Linked DNA regions of Homo sapiens: region 2 is linked to region 1. The links are contacts of gene promoters, found by promoter capture Hi-C in blood cells and fetal thymus (Javierre and others, 2016). All regions are on one chromosome and are shown on one strand. Each heading gives the region's core, a stretch centred on a gene start or on the middle of the fragment in contact. The rest is flanking DNA. Distances are from core to core; before and after follow the strand shown.

Region 1 (7,895 bases), core at 2,919-5,418:
CCAAGACCAGAAAGAGAGCTGCAATGCCGAAGCCAGCCAGAGCCCCTGCCTTACTTTCTTGACCAAACCAGAACCTGCCTGGTCAACTAATTTAAGAAGGCATCCTTCAAGACTAATGCAAGGGAGATGGGCAGGAGGGATATTTGAAGGTGAAACAAGACGGAAAACAAACAAACAAAAAAGGTTGATATGGGAAGAGACAAGCCATCTACGACCTTGAGTTCTGGTCTAAATTTTGCTACTAACCAGCTGGATAACCCCAGGCAAGCCACTTGCTCTCTCTGAACCTCCGTGTCTCATCTGTAAAAGAGGCTTAGAATGACTGTCCCCTGAAGCCCTTGCCAGCTCCAGCAGTCTATGAATCTTTGAAGCTCATTTCTTCAAGCTCACACGAAGATGCTTTCTTGGGGCAGTGCCTGGTCCTGGAATGCCTCACTAGTAAGCAGGAAAAATGGGGGGAGACCACCCCAAATAAACTCTGAAAATGTTCAGGACACCTAGACACTGCACAAAGCTTTCCAGGCACTCAGGCCAACACACAGTTTCCACCTTCTCAGTCACCCTTCACCTCCTATTGTAGTAACTTGCTAGGTCTCATACTTTTCTACAGGGTGTGCAGGACACAGCAGCAGCTGTCAGGAGAAGTCTTAGGGAGAGAGAAAGGGCCAGGGTGAGTGTCAGAAAGGCACAATCAGAAAGATGGACAGGGCTGAAAATAAGTACTTCCAGAAACCAAACATCTTTAACATCCTCCCTCTAATCCTCCCACACACAGACCACCTCCATTCCTAATCCCACCCTTCAATCCTTCCAGGGCTGCAAAGGGTGGGAGTTCCAGCTCCTTCTGCCGCAGTGCGGAGGTTAAGCAAGACAAGTGAAACAAATATTCTGCTCCACCTGGGGTCACACTGTGGGATACATGCTGTCAGAGGCAGATAATATACATAGAAAAACACTCCGGATGTGGACCCCGAAAGGAAAGGCAAGTGGGAGATTCTATGTTTATTTCTAGTTCTGACACCACAAGCTCCTGCTATGTGGGCCTGTGGATAAGTGTGAATGTGTATGTGTGTGTGTGTGTGTGCAAACACTAAAGTGACTAAGGATAGAAGGGTTGTATAAATCCTAAACCTCACACAGGCACAAATTTTGGTCCAGGCCCCACTGCTGGATATATGCATAGCCCCTGAGGCCAGGAAAGGAGAGGAAATAGCAGAAAGGCAGGCAGTGAGAAGGGAAGAGCTGAAGTTGATGAAAAAGGACAGAAGAAAGAAGAGATCAGAGAAGGAAGGAGAGAGACGAGAGGGAAATTGAAGAGAACAAAAGCCTATATGAGAGAGTGGGCCACCAGCAAAAGCTGCCTTTATTCATAACCCAAGGATTGGGATTTGCTCTGTGGGTTTTTCACGCCTCTAATTAAGTAGTAAAGGATCAAATGCAAGAGGGGATTAAGATTGGTGGGGCTTGAAGCTTATACAATTGAGGGAGGTTACTTTAGGGAAAAAAATAGAAAATTATGGCAAAAGTAGACACCAGGTTTTGGAAGGACCCAGGCAAAGGACAGGCCCCAAAACTAAAGCTTCAGTAGCCTCAGGTAAACCCACCTCGCATCAAATGAGTTCTCATGTAATAAAGGTAACTGGCAGTGTAAAGGCTACAAAACTTAAACTATTATCCTCCTACCCCTCCATCCCCAGCCACCACCACGTGGCTTTGTTCTGAATTTTAACCCTCTTTTTGTTTAATTAAGAAATTATTTTTGAAAAGAAAAGACAGTCATTGGCAGGAGAGGGAGTCTGTCTGCATAAAAGGGTGGAATCTATCTTCCTCAACTCTTTCGTGGATCTGGACCTGTATTCCCGCTACCGCCAAGGCTGGGAAGGGGCAGGTCGTGGCCCCTCTGGCAGGGTCACTGCAGCCCTCGCGCCCTGAACTGCCGACCCCAGCGCAGTGCGAGCTTCCGAAGCCCCAAAGCCGCCTCCCGCATCCATCACCTGGCACTGCCAACCGGTTTCCCCATCAGCATACGTGCACCCGCCACGGCCCGGCTGGCCTCTCTCGCGCAGCTGGAGAGCAGGACACTGTGCGGGCCGTAATGCAACCTGCTTACCTGGGTGGCAACGGTGGCCACGCTGCCCGGGAGCACGGACGTGATTCCATCCGTGGCCAGCACCACGGTGCTCTGGCTCATGTTCACCCAGCCCACAACAGGGGTATTGTTCCGCTCCAGGGTGCCCTTGCCCACACTCACGTTCGCATCCCCCTCCGGGCCTCGCAGAAAAGGGATCTTACAGTGCAGCGCGTTGCCGGGCCCGGAGCTCCCGGGAGGGGGCGAGGCCTGCGCGCCTTGCGCCTCTCTCAAGTCCCGCAGAGCTGCAGAGGCCGCCTGCGCCCGCGGGCTACTGAGTTTGCAAGACCCCACTCCTGGCCGCTCAGCCTCGCAGGCTCGCGCGTCCGCTGACTGGAAAGTTTGGGCGCCGGTGGAAGCGGACCTGGGCACACGTGGCGGCGGCGGGGCGGCAGCCGCGGGAAGCTCCTGCTCCGGGCTCGTCCTGGGAGCGCATGGGCCATCCGGGTGGCCCTGCGCCGCCGCCGCCTCCGGGCTGTTGGCTGGCAGTTTATTCATTTCCTTGGGAGCACTGCAATCCTGCAAACACAATGTCAAGTTCGTGCAAAACAAAGTCACAACAGCTTTTAAAATACCTGTATCTAGATATGGAGACGTTCGCAACTCAGGTCCAGACACAATATCTGGGGAAGCAAATTGGAATCTGAACTTTTTTTAAAAGAAAGGCTGCAATCAGTATTTCTCAATTTGCCCGTTTCATCAATAACCAGATGACAAAAAGAAGCTAATATTCCCTCCCTAGTGGAGGATGAACTAAGAAAAGAGGTAGAAATGTAATTTTGTAAGGGTAAAGGGGGAATGGAAATAGCCCTGGAGTCATGAGCTCCCCTCCCTCTTTGGATTCCACATCACAGCTGTGGGTGCCCGCATCCCCATCACCACTGTAGAAAGATTCTTTAATTTTCCGCCCCATTTCCTTTGTCATTCAACAATGCACACTGCCTTTTTCCCCCATAGACAAGCTGTGGCCACAAAGCTGATGCCCTGGCACCTGCGAGCGCTTGAGGCCAAATTGGTTGAGTCCCAGCGCTCCACAACCCACCTCCTCCCGCCAGGTAGCAAAGACAAGGTTAAGAATCACGATCAAAATAACCACAAAAAAACCTACAACGATAATAAACTAAATTTAAGACACAGAGTAGTAACTAGATTTGTTATCTTACACAACTCGTATTCACTTCCAGATTCCCAGACATGGAAAAGAATATGCAAAGCTTTTTGTTCTTTTGTTTAGGTCTTCTTCTTCTTCTTCTTCTTCTTCTTCTTCTTCTTCTTCTTCTTCTTCTTCTTCTTCTTCTTCTTCTTCTTCTTCCTCTTCTTCTTTTTTGCGTAACTATTCACAGGAGTCTAATATCCTTCACAACTCTAAGCTTGCTTGAGTACCAAAACTCATGACTAATTTTTATTCGCTTTTTCCCAATTCACTTTCAAATGAAAAGAACTGCCAGCGGTGGTTTTTCTATCCACTTTCTCCCCTCGTGTTATCTTTCACGGCTTCCTAAACATTAGCACCAATAATTATTATTACACTGTAAGAATAATCCTATTATCTTCGCCTCCACCGCACTCCTCTCGTCTAACCCCCTTTCACAAACACGCAGAATAGAACTCCTCGATTTGCACAAATCTAGGTACCTCGGCTTCAGCCAGCATTTGTCTCAGTAGCCTCTAGGACCCAGAGCAACTCGCCTCTGTACCGGCATCTGGCTTTTCAGCACCGAGGACAGTGCCCGGGATCGGGTCTTTAGGAGCCACAGCCAACCTCTCAGCTCTACAGCCTAGGAAACCTCTTTGCGACCTCAGGTGACGCTCACAAGTACAAATACCTAGGGCTGCGAGAATTGTTCTCCTCGTCGCCCCCTTTCCCCCCACCCAATGCACAGACATCTCCAAAAGAAATAGCCAAAACGAATCTGCTTTCCCTGTCCCCTCAGCCCCCTTTCCTCTTGAAAGAACAAAAGCAAACACTCACCATGTCTGACACAGGCAACAGACTGAACTGGTGGAGGGTGAAACCCGCTATTGACAAGACTGGGTTTGGCTCAGGCAGGAGAGGCGCTTTCTATATCTCCTTGGGAAAGGCCGGGTTTGCGTCAGTGCAAAGCAAGGTGCCCTTGGTTTGACATTTTCTTGATAATACAAGTTTGATAAATCATTACCCCCTTGGATTCAAGTTTTAAAGGGACAACAGCCTAGAGTATGCTGGCCAGTTGTCACTCCAGCGGGAGGGGGCTGCGTGTTTGGCGTGACTCATGTGGTCTGATTACTAAACCGAAACCGGCAGGAGGGGAAGACAGAAGTTTGCCTCCTCCTAATTAAGGGAAACATGGGAGGGACACGTCCCACTGCACCCAAGGCAAGGCGCAGCCGCCAACAGAGTGGATCGGGCTGTAGAGGAGGAAGGAGGGGGTTAAATCACTGTCTATTCTTTCCCTTTCACTAGATTCCATTGCTGTCCCCCCTTATCTTCAGGGATTCCGAAAATATTACTCCGAAAGAGGTTGAGGGTCTGCGCATAGCCCCACAGCTCTGCGATGACTGAAGCAGGCATGGGTCCTGCATTTATCAAGGTGTACCTACCTAGCATGTATGTGGACTTCAGATTCTCACATCCCTACCCTTCCAGACAGTCAGTCTTGGAGGAATCCTGGGGTTTTTGCTTAAAAATTGTGATCTGGTATTTCCGTTCCTATTTCTGTTATCACAATCAAGAGAAAATTCTGAGTATAACTGACCTTTTTCATTGTATTTTTAAGCTTTTCTGAAGACGTTTTAGAGAAAGAAAAACGAAGTTTTTCCAACACAGACCTAGTTCTTAGGTCACTTTCAAAGTCAAGGGAAACCCATTCTTTCTTTACAGTCCTTTCAATAAAATCCTACAAGAGCCAGGCCTGATTTGGCAGCGCGGGACCTTAGAGACCGTCCAAATCGGGATGCCCAGCAATGCGGGGGAGGGGGAATGAGAGCTGGCAATCTGCAAAGCCATGCCAGGATGTTCAACCGTACTGTGGCGGGGATGGGAGTGGGGGTGGCCATGGCGATAAAAAGATGGACTTTCTTGTTGTGTGTACAATGCAATAGCTATAATCAGAAGAGGAAAAAACGCCTTTACAAAGAAGGTGTAGTTTGGAGACTAGAAGGGGATTATCAGCAAAATGCTTCCCTTCTCTCCTTCCTTGCCGGTCTAGCTCGGGGAACCCCTGGCCTCGGGGATGAGGAGCCACAGACAGCACGTTTTCCCTTCCCTACTGCCAACAGCCCAGCCCACTGCCTCGGGGTGCGCGCCGTCGCCAGCGGCTGGGCCGTCCCACGCGGCGGGAGGACAATGCCGCGGCGGCCGCGGCCGCAGGCGTAGGCTGCAGTGGCAGATTGCGGCGGGCGCCGGGGGCACTAAGGGGCACCCTCCTGCTCCTCTGGAGAGCCCGAGAGTGTTTGGATGCCTCCGCTGGTTGGCTTTCCCGCCTAGCCCCTCTAAAGGGCAGCTGGCTGGGGACACACGGTCTGCATTGCCTTTGGTGGGGGCAGGAGGAGGAGATCTTTCTTTTGAGACGCCTTGAGGATTTCAGGTCGCTTTTTATTGCAGTTTTGAGCTAACGTCTATTGAGATCTCAATACTCAACCATTGTGCAAGGGATATCCATGAATTATCTCGGTTAGATTTAGCAATGGCCTTTCAGAAACTATACCAATTGCAAAGCTGAGGAAATTGGGGCTCAGAAAGTCGCTTTTGAACCCTGGAGAAGATCCCAACCACCTCCCGCCGGGCTGTCGCTAGGGTCAGTCGCTCTCTCCCCGGGGCCCGCTCGTAGGGAGAGGTCGGGAACGAGGGTTAAGAGGGTAGGGTGGGCTGTGGTGGACTCTGGCTGGAGGAGGGTCGTCTGAGTGGGTGGGACTGAGAATTCCGCAGGGGTGCCTGCTCAAGTTCCGGCTGGCGCTGAGAAGCACCCCGCAGGCTCTTGGCATCTTGGGGGACGCCAAGGGGACCTACGAGTGTTTCTGCCTAAACAGTCCCCAGTTTCCGAGAGGGCTCAAGACGAATGCGAGAACTGTAGAAGGCAGGCCTGGCAGGCAGGCTCGGGCTCAGAGAGCGATCGGCCGGAGCGGTACCACGAGGCGGGCCCAAAGATCGGTGTAGGCCTCCCTCTGCGGTTCCCCGGCCGACTTCCCCGAGGGACAGTCACGACTTTGGAAGGTTCTGGCCAGTTTCCCAATTTGCATTTGAGCAGCCCCCGCAAAGGGCCAGGTGCGAATGGAGAGTCTACGCGGCGCCCGGACGTTCCAGGGCGCACAGACTTGGCTGCCCCGGGAGGAAGGGAGAACTGCGCAGAGTGGGCAGAATCCTGCCGGCCTTCTCACTTCCCCCAGCTGCGGCCCTGGGCCTGAGTGACGCCCAGCGCCCCCGCTCAGCCCCCAGGCCTGATATTTCGCCCGCTGGCCCTCCCCGGCCCAGTGAGCACTTGGGTTCCGGCGTGGAGACTGCCGCGCGTCAGGCTCTGCAGAGGCGGGTGACGCGCAGGAACGGCTGCGGGGTTTGGCTGAGGCGCTATTCGGGCTCCCCGCCTGCCCCCACTTTCAGCCGCAAGATTCTAGAAGGGAGGGGCTACGTGGAGAATGGAGGGAGGGTCTGGAACGGAGAGGCCTAAGAGGGTTCGCTATGAGGCCAACGCTGGGACGGAGGGGCGGGCATCAGCAGGGCTTGAAGGTTGGGCTTCAGGGGCGGGAGAGAGCATGCGGAGGCAGGAAGCCAGGCCCTGGGGCAGCAGGTCGTGCGTATGGGTGTGTGTCAGCGCCTACGAAGCGCAGAGGATGGAACCGCAGTATTAAAAAACAAAAACAAAAAAAAAGAAGAAGAAGAAGAAGAAGACCAGCCGCACGTCCTCTAGACGCGGGCCTCCGCCCCCGCCCTCCGCGGACGCCTGTTTATAGTGATAATCAGGCCCAGCGCGCCGCAGCCAAGGAGGCCGTAAATCCGCATCCATCACCGCGCAGCCATTCGGTCTGAATTAGCCAGTCACTACGGCCTTAATTACTTTGTCAAAGATGAAAAATAGTAATTGATTTTGTCCTCGATCACTTTGTTCCCTCCTCTCCTGCCTTGCAGATAAGCAAATAAATATTTTTGAAAACTCGTGTCCACTCGGTTGTATGGGGGTAGCCTTCTGAAAAACAGGCCATCCGGTGACAGTCCTGACGCCAGTGTTACTGCCAAGACACGAAACGCCAGCTGCAACCCAGACAGGAGAGGGCCCAGAGGGCGGCCTACCGCATTCAAGTCGCTGCCCTCCTTTGCACTAAGGAAGGAGAGAGGAGGGAAAGATACCGGTGTTTTACAAGCTATTGCTCTGGCGTTAGCGGGGCACTGTGGCACCAGCCTCCTCTGGTCCTCAGGGCAGCATGCAAGAAAGAGCTGCCAGTGCGACTGACAGGCGAAGGAACGTGTCCAGGGTCAGAGGGCAGAGCCTAGCTTTGAGTCCCTGTCTGTGTTGGCTCCTCTCCATCCACCACATGAGGGATAGAGTATGAGCGCCTATGTCTATGTTTATGTGATTTTAACATGGGAGTCGTTAACACCTACAACTTCCATAGATGATGGATGTGAGGGCTCAGTGTGGGTTTCAGGTGACATGGCCGATAGTCAAGAAGCCATGCCGTATTTTTGTCCCACTTGTCTACTACTGCCCAGCTCCATTGCAGTGTTGTTCTGTGCTAAGAATGTGGGCTCTGCAGACACACTGCACCACTTCCTAGCTCTGTGACCTTGGGGGAA
Region 2 (7,895 bases), core at 2,990-5,489, 1.7 Mb before region 1:
GGGAGGTCTAATTCCGCCCTGAGCAGCCTGGGTGACTCCCCGAGGGGAACCTCAAGGTAAACTGGGGCTCAATATTTACATCCGAAAGGTGGGAGCGCGCTTTTCCCGCCTGAGAACTGGGGACCCTTTTTCCCCTTTAAATAATATTTTGACACCCAGAGGATCTTGCAAGGTCTCCCGGATTCCAAGAGTCTTCCCCAGTTTCTCCACTCAACTCCTGCTTAGTCTGGTTTACGGCAGCTGGGGTTTCTAAGAAGGAAGTCTGGACCCAGGGGTTCTGTGACCTTGACGTGACCCTCCCCTCTCTGGGCGCGACTCCCTGCCACCCTGGGACCCTCTTACGTTGTGGCTCCTCCTGGGGGAGGTAAACCTTCCGAAAGACCACTCAGCTGAACCTGCTGATATGAACACAGCTGATTTTGTTTTCCAGTTTGTTTCATTGTGAATATTAAGAATGTTTTGGCTGGGACTGAAGTCCTGGGAAAACTATAATTAATATGCTACACTATTCATCCAAGTAAAACAAACACACTTCTATTTAGACTTAGTGGACATTGCTAGTCACCAACGTCTTGTATTAAGTCACAGTTCACAAAACCTGGTGAGCTAGACCCTCTTTTCCACTTTGCAGTTGAGGAAGGGGAGGCCCAGACAGCAGAGCGAAAAGGGAACTGATAACACTACTGGGGTCCATTCTAGAACGGCAGAGCCAGAGAGGAGCTTAGGGAGCACCCAAACCTTCCTCTCAGTGGCGGGGGAACGGGGCTCAAACAGGAGATGTGGTTTTGCGAGGCCGCATGGCCGAAGGGCAGGAGCCAGGGCGGCCAGACGTTGCCCACCTCCTTGATGACCTTGCCCCCGCGGTGGATGGTGCTGTTGTTGACCATGTCCACAATGGCCACGCCCAGGTTGCAGCGGATACCGAAGGAGATGCAGAAGCCCAGGCCGCTCATGATGGCGATAATGTAGCGGCGGGGCAGGCCGAAGCACGTGCAGTCGCACAGCGGCGCCTTCCTCTCGGGCACCTCTAGGGGCTTCCCATCCTCCGTCAGCTCGATTGTCTCCCCGGTGTCTTGCTTCTTCTCCAGCACCCTGCGCGGCAGAGCAGGGGCGAGTCAAGGACTTGGCGGCTTAGGTACCCCCGATGCTGACCCATTCCCATTTTTCAGGACCCGTCGGGGTTGGGAGGAGGGCCGTCGACCTCCCCCCACCCTCGGGGATTAGGGTGGTGGGGTGACACCAAGCTGCAAGACCTCCCAGGCTCTCTCACATTCTGCAGGTGCCCTTGGCCGCGGCGGCGGCGTCTCTTCAACTTTAACACCTTTAGGCCTAAGGTAGCGAGTCCCCATCTCGGGATCCACCCCTGGGCGCTCTGATTGAGATACACAGGCCGCTTGGGCCTAACTTTCTTGCAGGATCTGCAGGGTCTGCATTTTGTGAGGGCAGGGGTTACCAGCGCCTCCTCTGCACCTGAGTAGGCGCCTCCCACTCCTACACGCGCCCAGCAGGGCTTTACCCTGACTACCGCGGTGTCCTCCTGCAACACAGCACCAGAGAGCTGCTCCGCTGCAGGCGGGCCCAACTAGAGAGCCTTTCCCACCCGCGCTGCCTTTTCCGTTTCTAGCAAGTTGAAGCTTTCCAGGTTGACGATGCTGGTATTCCGCTCCCCAATCCACCCCCTGAGCTGAGCCTGGAGCACCCCCTGGACTAAGGCCTCTCTAGGCTAGTGCCTGTGCGTGAGGAGAAGGCCTGAGAGCTCTCGCTGAGAGTGTCATGCACTCTCCTTCCCCTTCATCCCGCCCCAGGGCTCTAGTTCAATGCTTACTCCCCTGTTACACTTCTTACTATTTTTTTTTTCTTATTACTCGAGTTGGAGACAAAGGGCTCCACAGCATATGGCCGACACCTAAGCTTCCTACTGCCAGAACATGAATAATTAATTATTCACAATCTTGCGTCATTACTATCTCTCTTACAAACACCGAAAAATGTCAAGGGTCCATTTCCCAAGACGCAAAATGCGACTCCCAGATATACAAAGGCTCCCCCAAATCAACTTTTGTAAGATATTCCACATCAAAGGGGAAGATCTCACTTAAATATTTGTTTTTGCATAGTGTTTCATAAGATTTCAACCATCAATTCATTTTTGGCTTTGGTCCTTGGGAGAAGGGACAAATGAAAAGGGGAATGCAGAGAAAAGGAATGGTTTTACTAAAAGGTGGTAGTGTTCTAGTCTACAACATATTCATGAAATTTCTATTAACAACAAACAAACAAAAGGAATGTATAAGGTAACATCTCTGTACGTAGCCCCTTGCGATTGATACTTTCGATATTTAAACAAAGAGCCTTTCCGTTTACAATTTGCAGATATTTTTTCCAATCTACCGTGTAATTGCTTTTCACCTGTGCTGTTTTAAGTGCTATGTGAACACCCAATTGTTTTCACACACACGGGTAAAGCAAGTGAAATTTTTAAACTAATTTCAAATATGCATAGCTTGGAATACTGCTGTCAAGAAGTTTGAGGCCACCCGAAGAAAAATGTCAGGCTTCCGAATTCTATAACGTAGCACCTGGAGAATAAGTCATAAAGGTATTTGTGGCTAGGTTAATGTTTATTCTTAAAGTCCGATCACAATGTTAGAAAACATTGCAATTTATTTTTACTGGGAGAAAAAAATTCAGCCAATGCGGTTTTTTTTTTTCATTTCCTGCATTTGCTTCGTGTGCTCAAATATACGAAGTTGAGCTCTGCACCGGATGGCAGTTGTACTGGGAAAGAACATCCCTTTCCATGGTAGCTGTGGGACTGCAGGGCCCTTGCGGTATCTACTGCCGCATAGGTGCATAATCGTGCCTACATGAAGCCCGCCAAACCTGAAGAGATTTGGAAAATCTGGGAGTGGTTTGATCATTTTCTTTACATTTCTCATGCATTTACAGAGACTTCAATTTCCCAAATATTAAAATTAGTGCTCCTTTGTAATTCTTTTTCCTTTTATGTCTGCCCTGTCGTCTTGATTTTGCTCTAATTATTAAGAAAAGCTGTATCCATATAACATACTTGAAATGATTTAAAGTTTTGCAAATTACAGCATAATTAGTATAGTGACTACAGGAGGATTAAATAATTAAATCATTTCTAGGACTTTCAAAGTAATGTTGCTTGTTATATTTATGGCTGTTCTTCCAGGCATTGACATTTCCTATGCAAGAAATAGACTCTAGGAGATGAAAATAATTAAAAATGCATATACATTGTTTCAGGCTCAGAGAAAGGAATTGCTTCAACTATCAATTATTGATATATTTTGATTCTTCTTCATTCAATACAGAAGACATATTTCACTAGGGGATTCTCTACTATGCTTTTGAAGCTGAGACCTCTCTCTTTCTCTCTCTCTCTAACATATATATATATATATATATATAAAACATATATATATAACATATATATATAACTATATATAACATATATATATAACATATATATATAACATATATATATAACATATATATATAACATATATATATAACATATATATATATATAAACCATTACTCTTTGGAATTTCTTGGTTATTTTTTTAGATGGTTGTGTTTTATATTCATTTGTCTGCATCAAAGGAATTTAATTCGGGGTATCTATAAGCACCAAAAGAAACGCTGTTTGAGCAGGGGCTGGCCATTTCTTAACTGTAAAGAAGATAAATCCTGTGTAGTAAAGGACAAAAACTCTGCAGGCACCAAAGCAAAAATCAAACACACACACACACACACACACACACACACACACACACACCAGACAGGTTCATTTAGTGCAACATTCCTGCATTAATAAGCAGGTTTCCAGAGCACCCCCGCTCCAAGCAATGGGCAACAAAAAGACTTTCCGATCATATTACAATCTTTCTGAGCCACCAGGGTTTACGGAAACGGCCCTGCAGATTTTTTCATGCTGAGCCCCAGGTAAGCAAGTGTTCGCTTTGTCTTACCTGTAGATCTGGCCGAGTGATTTTCCAGCAAAATTCTTTAGCCCCTCTTTTCCTGGGGCCAAAATCCTTTGTTTTACGGATTCCATTCTTGCAAAGACTGTTGTCAGTTCTTGCCAGATTTAAATAGTGATTGCTAGGAAAGGCGAGGATTGCGCATATTGTCTTAATCTCTTAAAGTAGTTGCGGGCTTTTCCTTCTCAGCAGAATGGTAGTGGCTCGCCTCCAGCAAGAGTGAGAGTGAGAGAAGGGAGGGAGAGTGAGAATGAGAATACAACAGAATAGCTGCATGCAACCCACGGGTTTCCTAATAGGAGAGTTGGTAGACACAATCAGAAAGTCTCATTGGAAGGGGAGGATCCGGTGGCAAAGAGCGCAAGCAGTGCCACGGTATTTGGGTAGATGCGGTTGAGTCCTTTTCCTGGAAGTCGGTCAGCTGAAAAACAATGTAAATTCCCGGTTTTGAAGACTTATTGCTCTCAAATCTGATGGCTTTTAAACGGAGGGGCCGGAATATCACAGAAGCCTTGGGAACAGCAAAGTCAAAAGAATGGTACTTTTAAAAATGGTGTCTTTGCTGTAAGGAGCAGAGCATATTCAAAACTCATGGGAGCATCTCAGGTCTCAGGTGAGCAATGCTGCTATTAGTTTTTCCTCTCTGCCCATGATCTCCTCCCATCACGCCAGCGTAAGTCTGCTCTGCGGTAGAGTCAAATTAAGATGGAGAAGGCTTGCTGCTCTTTGAGGACGTGAGTAAATAAAAGATACACAGTTCTGATTTGGGCAGCCTCGGGGAAGATTTTTTTTTTCAGCGGCTGACAGCGCCCGTCTGGGCGGGTCTCGGTACAATGTTTCAGCACCACGGACAGAGTAAGTTTCAGGAATAGGGGACTCTTCTTTTGGCTAGCTAGGTTGCCAACTTTCTAGGGGAGCTGGGCGGATCGCCCTGACCAAGGACCATACGGGGGCTCTTCAGGAACGGATGCTATGGAAACCATTGGGAAGATGTCATCATCTCCAGAGTTTGCAGGGAGAATGGTGCATTTAGCTCTGCTAGGGAAGACAACTTTATTAAAAATTCACAAGTTACTTCTAGTTTGCTACGTTTTGTCCAGCACGCTGATGCCAGTATTGCAGGGAAGAAAGATTTCAACATATTTAACTTATGCTTGTGGTGTTCCAAGACACCTAGGCTCCCTTGAATATAAAATATGTGCACACAAAATACATAATTACATTGTTCATGTGTTTGTTTTAACTCCTGACAGGAAAAAGATGAAAGAAAGAAAGGGAGAGAATGAAGAATAGAGGAAAGGAGAGATAAAGAAAAAGAGGTGGGAGGTATGGAGAGAAGAAAAAAGAATAGCTATAAACTCAGTGAAGTTGATTAAATAAAATACAGTTAATTTAATATAAATTCCTTGGAATTTTAAGCATCTTTATTTAACTAATTTACAATACACTACTGAAATACCAATATACTGATGAAATATGTGGCTATACCTTGTGCTTGCCAACAAATTGTAATTGATAATTTAAAGATTTATTTTTAAAAAGATTTATTTTAATTTACATATATTCCATTCAAATCTTATTTTATTTTTCTTTGTATGTCCTTCTCCTAAAGCATAAATTTTGAAAGACATTCATGTAAGAGTTTTGGCTTTATATATACAGGTACAGCATCAATGAATTTATCTCATTAAGCAAGCAAGAAAACTGCTAGATTAATGTAAATTATTAATCTCTTTCACATGAATCACAAACTTCTTAAGTACAATTCAGGCCAATGCTTACAGAACAGACTGGCCTTGAACCACATTTTCAAGGTCAAAACCTTGGATGTCACATAAGCCAACAGAGGGAGTCAATTTTACTTAGGATCCTGAGACAAAATCTCAAAAATATGGATCTAAATTGAGAATCAAATAAGAATATTACCTGAATAGTTCAAATGATATAATGGCTATGTATTCACTGAATGGATAGCTGGAAAAAAATGTCAAAGTAGCTAAAACCATCTGCCATTATTAAGTTTGATAGTTGTCAAATTATTTCCATTGTGAAATATAATAAAGAAAAGGATAATGAAGACATTTTTATCTTTTTTGATAAATTTGTGTTAAAATATGTATCTTCAATAAAACAGTGAATTTAATTTTTCTCTAAAACCATGGGATGCCTCAGAATACTATCTATTTCTCAAGATCAAGTATAAGGAGACAAAAAAAAAACCCTCATTAAACTATTTCCTTGCAAAAAAAAAAAGAAAAGAAAAAGATTAAAAGATTCAAGCTATTCAGGACTTGACTTATCTAGGTGTTTTCAAAATATCTGTATTTTTCAAATCTTTAATAACTAAGTTCATTAAATTATATTTATTTAGAGATATTAATGATTTTGGAATTCTGGGAAGTTATACAAAAAAATAGAATTTACAACAAATATTTGTGAAGCTGGGGTGATGATATGTAAATGATTTTCCTAAGCACTCCAGCTTAAGTTGCACCACAAATGACTAGAGATCTATCTAAACCATCAGTAAACATGATAGCTAAGTCTCCAATACACAAATATGAGGGGACACTAAGCAATATAAATCCAACACAAAAGCATTGTTTTTAAACAGTTATATTCACCTTTATTGAAATGAATGTCATCCTCCTCTCTCTTCCACTCTCTTGATAATAGGGTGAGCAACTGAATCAGAATAACTGGTAATATTGATTTACTCATTCTAAAAATATTCATTGAGTGTCAAGAATAATACTAGATCTGGGAATTCTCCCTGAAATATCTCACAAGCTACTTGGGAGATAGACACAAAAATACAATTTCAAACAATTATGGGTGAAATTACACAAGTTAAATAACCCAGCCCGGGAGTGAAAATGTCCAGAATATATTTCAAGAGACAATGTTTTCTTGTCTGTCTTAATAGTTAAAAGAAATGTAGTTCTATAAAGATGATGGCAGCCCAGTGGAGTTTGGCAGGGTGGAGTGGTGGTATTTGGATAGCACCCTAGCCAGAAGGGGTGTATTTAATGGTATTTTCATAAACAATGAAAAATGTTATGTGTGGAAAATTACAAGAAACGTTACTAGACCACCTGCGACTGAAGAATGTCATTTAGGCTGGCTTTAAACCCATAGCTGCTCCCAGTGTAAGAAACATATATTCAGACACCATTTGCTAACCCAACAGATTTTCTTCATGAGTGGACACAAATTGCAAACGCTGAACGTGTACTTTTGCAGCCCTAAATTCATCAGATTTATCTTTATGCAAAGAAACACTAGTAGTTATATGTAAGATATTAATTTAAGCATATCAGAAAAGGCTTCCTTTCTCTTGACACCCTCCTTTATCCCCAATAACTTACATCCAATTATAACAAGTCCTGAATTGCATTATTAGACCACTTTTCTTCTAGGGGAAGAATTGTCCCTCTTGTCAAGAACTGTTAACAATAAAAGGAGAAGTTTTCACTGAATATAACTAATATAATATGTGTGCAATATTACAATTTATGAGTAGCTTTTATTTACATGATAAACGTATTTATTCCTTATAATTATTCCTTAAACTAAAATAGTTGTATTCCCATGTTATTGAGGAGGAAAGTGAGATTTAGTAATTACCTGAAGTCATGTAACTGGTGATGAGAAAACAGCTCAGGTTAGAGGAGTTTCTCACAGTTTAAGGTCTTGTTAAAATACAGATTCTGATTCAATAGGTCTAGAGTGGTGCCCAAGATTCAACCACTGTAACACGTTTCTACAACTGCTTGCCTAAGGATCACATTTTGAACATCAACATCTCGGAGTATGAAATGTGAAATCAGTTTACCTGAGTTTGGGTCCTGGTTCCACTGATTATCATCTCTGCAATTTTGTA

The links. The method cuts DNA at HindIII sites, captures the fragments that hold promoters and counts their contacts. A CHiCAGO score of 5 or more calls a contact.
Region 2: a contact is called between the fragment with the promoter of SLC17A6 here and the fragment with the promoter of SLC6A5 in region 1, in 1 of 17 cell types (M2 macrophages). The highest score is 5.8, in M2 macrophages.

The regions. Positions count from the first base shown.
Region 1 is chr11:20,595,881-20,603,775 of GRCh38, reverse strand. SLC6A5 (solute carrier family 6 member 5) reads right to left here and starts at 4,168. Exons shown (of 16, transcript NM_004211.5): 1 at 4,101-4,168; 2 at 2,111-2,647. The coding sequence starts at 4,103. The HindIII fragment of the contact is 1,386 bases long and covers 3,501-4,886 here.
Region 2 is chr11:22,334,725-22,342,619 of GRCh38, reverse strand. It overlaps SLC17A6 (solute carrier family 17 member 6), which reads right to left and starts at 4,239. Exons shown (of 12, transcript NM_020346.3): 1 at 4,001-4,239; 2 at 840-1,092. The coding sequence starts at 4,086. SLC17A6-DT (SLC17A6 divergent transcript) reads left to right here and starts at 4,398. Exons shown (of 4, transcript NR_186351.1): 1 at 4,398-4,625. The HindIII fragment of the contact is 7,348 bases long and covers 1,914-7,895 here.